3 separate regions of the Homo sapiens genome follow, and all the other regions are linked to region 3. Evidence: promoter capture Hi-C in human tissues and cell types (Jung and others, 2019). All regions are on one chromosome and are shown on one strand. Each heading gives the region's core, a stretch centred on a gene start or on the middle of the fragment in contact. The rest is flanking DNA. Distances are from core to core; before and after follow the strand shown. Region 1 has its middle 25 kb from the start of OCM. Region 2 has its middle 47 kb from the start of OCM. Region 3 holds the start of CYTH3 (cytohesin 3).

Region 1 (2,700 bases), core at 35-2,534, 420 kb after region 3:
GCTGCTTTGGCCTGCTCAAACTTTTTTTTTTTTTTTTTTTAGAGACAGAGTCTCGCTTTCTGGCCCAGGCTGGAGGGCAGTGGCGCGATCTCGGCTCACTGCAACCTCCACCTCCCAGGTTCAAGTGATTCTCATGCTTCAGCCGCCTGACTAGCTGGGATTACAAGCATGCACCACCACGCCCAGCTAAATTTTTTGTATTTTTAGTAGAGACAGGGTTTCACCATGTTGGCCAGGCTGGTCTCGAACTCCTGACCTCAAGTGACCCACCCACCTCGGCCTCCCAAAGTGCTAGGATTATAGGCGTGAACCACCGCACCTGGCCAGGCCTGCTCACACTTTCAGCTCTGTCTCCTGCACTCAGGGAGAACACTGGGCTCTGCCCGGCTGCCCTCCTCCCGCGGCAGCTGGAAACACTTTGCCTCATTGGTTTCTCCCCTAACGGAGATCATGGTCTTTAGTGCCACCTATTGACCGGTGTCTAAAAACTGCCTTTGCGTATGTGTTGTACGGTTTTCTAGGTATTTAAGGCAAGAGGGTTAATCCATCTTGGCCATAAGTTGGGGAAGTCTCCACAATTTTTACAACATTTTGGGAGTCTGAAGGGGGAAGACTGCTTGAGACCAGGAGTTCGAACCCAGCTCGGGCAACACAGCAAGACCCCAATCTCTCCAAGAAAATAAAAATACTAAAAGTAGCCGAGCATGACAATGTGCGCCTATAGTCTCAGCTACTCGGGAGGCTGAGGTGGGAGGACTGCCTGAGCCCAGGAGATCCAGGCTGCAGTGAGCCATGTTGGCACCACTGCACTCCAGTCTGGGTGACACAGTGAGACCTTGTCTCAAGAAAAAAATAAAACATTTTAAGTTCCTGGAAGGGTGAGTTAGAGGCTATATAAAGAATTAAAGCTTTTTTAAAATCACATTCCCAAATTATTGGTCAAAAGGGAGCAGTGGGCCGGGTGTGGTGGCTCATACCTGTTATCCCAGCACTTTGGGAGGCCGAGGTGGGCGGATCACCTGAGGTCAGGACTTTGAGACCAGCCTGGCCAACACGGCAAAACCCCATCTGTACTAAAAATACAAAAATGAGCCAGGCGTGGTGGTGAGCACCTGTAATCCCAGCTACTTGGGAGGCTGAAGCAGGAGAATCACTTGAACTGGGGAGGCAGAAGTTGCAGTGAGCCGAGACAGTGCCTCTGTACTCCAGCCTGGGTGACAGAGCAAGACTCCATCTCAAAAAAAAAAAAGAATTAAAGCTTTTGGTGGCTCACACCTGTAATCCCGGTACTTTGGGAGGCTGAGGTGAGCAGATGGCTTGAGCTCAGGAGTTCAAGACCAGCCTGGGCAATGCGGTGAAACCCCATCTCTACAAAAATTATAAAAATTAGCCAGCCATGCTGGCTCACACCTGTAGTTCCAGCTACTCAGGAGGCAGAGGTGGGAGGATCGCTTGAGCCTGGGAAGTTGAGGCTGCAATGAGCCCTGATTTTGCCACTGTACTCCAGCCTATACAACAGAGCAAGACCCTTCTCAAAAACGAAAAGAAACTGCTGTTTCCTATGTTTTGTACAGTTGTAGGTATTTAAGGCAAGAAGGGTTATCCATCTTGGCCATAAGAAGGGGAGATCTCCACAATTTCTGTAAACATTTTAAGTTCATGGAAGGGGAATTGTGGGTTAGAGGCTATATAAAGTATTAGGATTTTTGATAATAAGAAAATATGGGCTAAGCATCGTGGCTGTAATCCCAGCACTTTGGGAGGCCGAGGTGGGTGCATCACTTGAGGTCAGGAGTTCGAGACCAGCCTGGCCAACATGGTGAAACCCCCATCTCTATTAAAAATGCAAAAAAAATTAGCCAGGCATGGTGGCGGGTGCCTGTAATCCCAGCTACTCAGGAGACTGACACAGGAGAATTGCTTGAACCCAGGAGGAGGAGATAACAGTGAGCCAAGATCATGCCATTGCACTCCAGCCTGGACAACAAGAGCAAAACTCCATCTCAAAAAAAGAAAAGGGCACATATGTGTGCGTGCAACAGAATACAGAATATTTATTTCCAGAGGAACCCTGACTTCTCCAGGCTCCTCGGTTTGTCCTTCTTTGTGGGCATGATTTATGCAGCTGCCTATAGATGTCACCACAGGAAGGCACGTCAGAGGTAATAAAAATCCCAGAGTGAGAACTGCGGCACCACGGCAGAGGGCCAGAGCACGAGTGCAAAGGCCCCGTGTCAAACACAGAAGAGGTTTTTGTTTTAAATCACGACATCTAATGGCTCACACCTGCAACCCTAGCATTTTGGGAGTCTGAGGTGGGAAGATGGCTTGAGCCTAGGAGTTAGAGACCAGCCGAGGCAACATAGCAAGACCCTGTCTTTACCAAAAATAAAAAAAAAAAAAAATAGTTGGGCGTGGTGGCATGCATCTGTGGTTCCAGCTCCTCGGGAGGCTGAGGCAGGAGGACCACTTGATCCCAGGAGTTTGAGGCTGCAGTGAGCTGTGATCACACCACTGCACTCCAGCCTGGGTAACAGAGTGAGATCCTGTCTCAAGTAAAACATAAAATAAAATAACATAAATAAAATTAAAATTAAAATAAATAAAATGAAATAACAAAATAAAATAACATCAGTCCACAGAACCCAAATCTTCGCCCAAGATAGAGTGACAGCCTTTACTAAAACAAATATGATCACC
Region 2 (2,872 bases), core at 1-2,500, 440 kb after region 3:
TACTCCGGAGGCTGAGGCAGGAGAATCACTTGAACCCGGGAGGCAGAGATTGCAGTGAACCAAGATAGTGCCACTGCACTCCAGCCTGGGCGACAGAGCAAGACTCCATCTCAAAAAAATTTTTTAATTAAAAAAATAAAACCCATTATGGCAAGCAATTTCAGACAAGATCAGGCACGTTCAGGGTGGTGTGGCGGTACACATGGCAGGCTGTTTCAAGAACACGCAGTTCATTCATTCGTTCCTCTAGATAATGCAGTGTTACATCCAGGTCACTTGGCACCACACAAGGCTGTCTCTGTAGACCTGAGTGTTCGGCATCCCCAAACAACCAGAATCACAGACGGCTGCTTTGGCATAATATCTGCTGTTTATACAGAGAGGAAGAAAAGTCACAAGAGATTTCCTGTTGTGTTTCTTTCAAGGTGGTTGTTATTGAGGAACGGGTCTGCCACATCTTACATACAAAGATCAAATACATCTTTAAATCTTGAAAGAGCTGTATTCCCCCCGAGAATTAGACACGGTTGTCCAAAACAGACAACACAAGTCATATATTAGATGGAATCTGCCTGCCTTTTTTAAGTGACAGGAATGTCAGATATAAATTTACAAGGCATCGGGCTGGGCACAGTGGCTCACGCCTGTAATCCCAGTACTTTGGGAGGCCGAGGTGGGCAGATCACTTGAAGCCAGGAGTTTGAGACCAGCCTGGCCAACGTGGTGAAACCTCATCTTTACTAAAAATACAAAAATTAGCTGTGTGTGGTAGCAGGTGCCTGTAAGCAGGTGCCTGTAAGGAGGCTGAGGCAGGAGAATTGCTTGAACCCAGGAGGCAGAGGTTGCAGTGGGCCGAGATTATGCCACTGCACTCCAGCCTAGATGATAGAGCCAGACTCTGTCTCAAAAAAGAATTTACAAGGCATCTCACAACTGCAGCAGCCTCTACAGTCTCTCCACCCTGTCCTTCCCACAGCCGTGACCTTCCATTCTCTTCCTGTTTTCACTGATCCTGACTTCTGTTTGCATTTTATCAGATTTTTTTTTTTTTTTTGAGACAGAGTCTCACTCTGTCACCCAGGCTGAAGTGCAGTGGTATGATCTCAGCTCACTGCAATCTCCACCTCCCAGGTTCAAGTGGTTCTCCTGCCTCAGCCTCCCAAGTAGCTGGGATTACAGGCACCCACCACCACACCCATCTAATTTTGTATTTTTAGTAGAGACAAGGTTTCACCACATTGGCCAGGTTGGTCTCAAACTCCTGACCTCAAGTGATCCACCCGCTTTGGCTTCCCACAGTGCTGGGATTACCAGTGTGAGCCACCACACCCAGCCTTTATTAGTCATGTTCTTATGAGCATCCAAAATCCCTGCTGAAAAAGTGCAGTAGAAAGAAATGCCACACTCACCTGGGCCATGGTTCTTCCTTGCTGTTGTGGGAAAGCAGGTATCTGTGAAGGCAGACATCAGAGTGGGGAGAGAGGATATGAGAGGCCACGCTTGCCCGTGGGCTCCCGATCAACTGCTGAGACCACCCCCACCCCCCGCCTCGCGGGCACAGGTGGGAGAAAGCCTTCTCTGAAGGATCCCCATTATCAGAGCAAAGCCCTCACCTTGGAAATGTCATAGGGACTCAATCTCATGAGGCCTGACTTGGATTTTTGTTTTGTTTTTTGAGACAGGGTTTCACTCTGTCACCCAGGCTGGAATGCAGCGATGCAATCAGAACTCAATGCAGCCCTGGACTCCCAGGCTCCAGCGATCCTCCCACCTCAGCCTCCCGAGAAGCTGGGACTATAGGTGTGTCACACGCCCAGCTAATTTTTAAATTTTTTGGTAGAGAAGGCGGTCTCACTGTATTGCACAGGCTGGTCTCAAACTCCTGGGTTCAAGCAATCTGCCCATCTCAGCCTCCCAAAACCTTGGGATTACAGGGGTGAACCACCACGACTGACTGGAGTTTTTCTTAATGAATATGTGTATCTATGTCTCAGTAACCAATGTGCAATTTACTACAATCCCCACCCATTACCCAAAAATGTAATTATTAGAAATCTATTCTGAAGAAACAGGCCAGATGCAGAGGCTCACGCCTGTAATCACCACACTTTGGGAGGCCGAGGCAGGTGCATCACCTAAGGTCAGGAGTTCAAGACCCGCTTGGCCAATATGGTGAAACCCCATCTCTACTAAAATACAAAAATCAGCCAGGTGTGGTGGCACATGCCTGTAATCCCAGCTACTCAAGAGGCTGAGGCAGGAGAATCTCTTGAACTTGGGAGGCAGAGATCACAGGGAGCCGAGATTGTGCTGTACCACTGCACTCCAGCCTGGGCAACAAAGCGAGCTTGCATCCCCCCAAAAAATGATAAGAAAACTTTTTGGGGGATGGGGTCTGGCTCTGTTGCCCAGGCTAGAGTGCAGTGGTACGGCACAATCTTGGCTTCCTGTGACTTGTCCCTGTAATCCTAGCTACTTGGGAGGCTGAGGCAGGAGAATCGCTTGAGCCTCGGAGGTGGAGGTGGCAGTGAGCTGTGATTGCGCCACTATACTCCAGCCTGGGCAACAGAGTGAGACTCCGTCTAAAAACTCAAAACATATATATATATATATGCTTTTTGTAGAGTCAGGGTCCCGCTATGTTGCTCAGGCTGGTCTCGAACTCCTGGCCTCAAGAGATCCTCCCGCCTTGGCCTCCCAAAGTGCTGGGATTACAAGCATGCATCACTGTGCCTGGCCTGTTTCTTGTCTGTATACATCGACTACAAACTACAGCACATGTAATAAGTTTGTAAACATACATCTATAAAGAAAAAATTCTGGGCCAGGCACAGTGGCTCAAGCCTGTAATCCCAGCACTTTGGGAGGCCAA
Region 3 (2,700 bases), core at 117-2,616:
AGTGTCCCTCGTGGGTTTGGTTGCATGAGAATGCTTGGTGTTCAATTCTTGAGGTTATTAGAAGATTGAACTTTGAAATCATCCCGCAACCTTGAACCAAAAGGTGAAATTGTCCACTTTGATAGATGACAACGGAAGGATCCTTTGGTTCAATGGACAGCTTGTAAATATAAAACAGTTGCTGGAAAATTATATTAGAGATGAGCTATCTCCTCCATTACAATGTTTGCTTTTCTTTAATGCGATTGAGTTCCAACAGAAAGGCTTGGGAGGGGCCACAAGCAATGCTTCAGGAGTTACTGGAAGAGAGATATGGGGAGTGAGAGAGGAGATCCATCGATGTGGAGCAGGGGCCAGGGGAGGCCTTCTGCCCAGGAGGCCTGTGCTGAGGACCCTGGCTGTGCCCAAGGGAAACTGAATTCAGAGCTCCTCCTGCATCATAAATCCAGGACAGCTGGCAGCTCTCCAAGGAAGACTGGCGCTAAACTCCAAGGGCATCAGCCGCCAGATTGGCCAACCCCTACAATGCCCTTTGAGAGCTGAGCCCCAGGTGTGTTGAATCGGGATTCCGTTCCAACCTCATGACCACATTCATTTACAAGCCCTGCATTTTGTTAATTTAAAAATGCACTCACCAGGAGGGAAGGAGGAGAGGCTCCATTAAATATAAGACAGCTGAAAGGCTGGAATTCTTCTGACATGCATGTCTTAGGAAGGAGAAGGCCTGACCTTGTTCTTTTTTTTTTTGAGACAGGGTCTCACTCTGTCACCCAGACTGGAGTGCAGTGGTGCAATAATAACTCACTGCAGCCTCTACCTACTGGGCTCAAGTGACGTGACCTCCCACCTCAGCCTCCCCAGTAGCTGGAACTACAGGCACATGCCACCATGCCTGGGTCGCTATGTTATCGGGGCTGGTCTCCAACTTTTGTTCTCCAGCGATCCTCCCACCTCAGCCTCTCAAAGTATTGGAATACAGGTGTGAGCCACCGAGCCTGGCCAGGCCTGACTTCTGAATGCATTCGTTTCTTGATCTTTTACCCCGAGTGCACGTGCAAGTTGCACCCCTGGCCACTGGGTTTTGCAGAGTGTGGCGTTCCAGTGTCCGGGGCCCCACGCCCGTCCGCAGGCTACTGGAATGCTGAGGGCGAGGAGGCTTCGCTCCACGCACACCGGATCGGCCTGCACTTCAGGGGCCAGGTCTACAGCCTTCCCCAGCGCAGACGCCGCCGGCCCGGCCGGTTCCCGAGGGCGGGGCTGCGCGGCCTCACGCCCCGCCCACCGCGGGCAGAGGCGGGGCATGGGTCACGTGACGGCACGCCGACCAGCGAGGCCCCGCCCGGCGGGAGGAGGCCCGGCCGCGACCCGGGCCGCGCGCTGAGGAGCCGCCCGGTCGCCTGCGCGCTCCCTCCGGCGGCGTCCCCAGCCCGCGGCCCCTCTGCTGCCGGCCCCCGGCTCGCCGGCTGCGGGAGTGGCCTCAAGATGGATGAAGACGGCGGCGGCGAGGGTGGTGGCGGTGAGTGTCGGAGGTGTGGTGGGCTCGCCGGCGGCCTGGGGTCGGGGGCCGGGGGCTGGGGGTCGAGGGCGCGGCGCTGGGCCGGGGTTCGCCGGAGGAGACGGGGTCGGGGGCAGCGGCAGCGGCGTCCGCTGGAGGCCTGAGGCACGCCGGGCCAGGGCCGAGGCTGGGTCTCCGGGGGCCGAGGGAGGGGGCGGGCCGGGGTCGCCGTTCGGCGCTGGCGAGGGTCTGGGTACCAGGCCGGGGCTGCCGCGGGCTGGGGTCGCCCCGGAGTCTCGGGCCGGGGTTTGGGTGTCGCTCCTCTGGGGCGGGGGACCTTGCGGGGCGACCTTCCCCGCATCTTGTCGCCAAGGGCGTTCATGCCCTCCGGAGCCCGGCGTTTCGGACGCCCCCTTTCAGCTCAGGTGGGCGGAAGCGGCTGAGCCGGTGGGAAACCGGGAGGGGAAAGTTTTGCACTGGAGGCTCCTCGAGTGTACAGGACGGGAGGGCAGGGGAAACGGTTGGAAAGCGTGACAGTCTGCTTGGCTTTGGGTCAGAAACGGTCGCTGGATTTGCTCGAACGGGGAGGGGGCCAGCTGGAGTTCAGTTCAGGGTAGACGTTTTAGGAAACGGCAGACGCGACAGATTGAGCAAAAAACTCCGTGGAGCCGAGGGTGGGAGACACGAGCTGCACCCAGCACAGAGGCAAGACCGGAGAGCCAGGTGTGCCCGGAGCCAGGTGTGCTCCCGAGTGGGTCGGGTCGATGCGCGTCGTGGCCCAGGTGGTCTGTGTCTGACGTTCGGTTTCCTCTTGCTGGAGGAATCGTGTTTGTTGGAAATTATTTAGTGGAATACAAATGACTGCTGGGTCATGCTGGGAATTAGATTTTAAAAACAGAGGAACGTGCCTCTGTATGGAGTGGGTGTTCGCTTTGGAAAGCAAAGGGTTAATGCCCGTGTTTTTACAGGAACAGCCGAAGTTGAGGTTCTCTAGACTTTTTTTTTTTTTCCTGAAGATCTCCTTTGAGCTGACAGAGAAATCATCAGAATCATCAGAACCCCATGTAATAAGGGAGCAGTTTAGAGAAATCTTAATTACAGGCTGCCGGTGCAGCTGCCTGTAAGAATCAGCAGTATTGAATGCTTCAGGATGAAGTGGTTCATCATCAAGGTGCCTTCCAGAATTCAAGTGCTGCTCAGAGGGA

What was found. The method cuts DNA at HindIII sites, captures the fragments that hold promoters and counts their contacts. A contact is called where the count stands out against the background at its distance.
Region 1: a contact is called between a fragment that was not itself captured here and the fragment with the promoter of CYTH3 in region 3, in 1 of the 25 tissues and cell types used here (dorsolateral prefrontal cortex).
Region 2: a fragment that was not itself captured here is called in contact with the fragment with the promoter of CYTH3 in region 3 in 1 of the 25 tissues and cell types used here (spleen).

The regions. Positions count from the first base shown.
Region 1 is chr7:5,854,390-5,857,089 of GRCh38, reverse strand. It overlaps the pseudogene ZNF815P. Among named protein-coding and RNA genes, the nearest start is that of OCM, 25 kb to the left of the region's middle. The HindIII fragment of the contact is 4,199 bases long and covers 1-2,700 here.
Region 2 is chr7:5,832,106-5,834,977 of GRCh38, reverse strand. It overlaps the pseudogene ZNF815P. Among named protein-coding and RNA genes, the nearest start is that of OCM, 47 kb to the left of the region's middle. The HindIII fragment of the contact is 7,853 bases long and covers 1-2,872 here.
Region 3 is chr7:6,271,290-6,273,989 of GRCh38, reverse strand. CYTH3 (cytohesin 3) reads left to right here and starts at 1,366. Exons shown (of 13, transcript NM_004227.4): 1 at 1,366-1,516. The coding sequence starts at 1,483. RefSeq lists silencers at 1,139-1,498, 1,819-1,988 and enhancers at 1,307-2,028, 2,029-2,700. The HindIII fragment of the contact is 17,528 bases long and covers 1-2,700 here.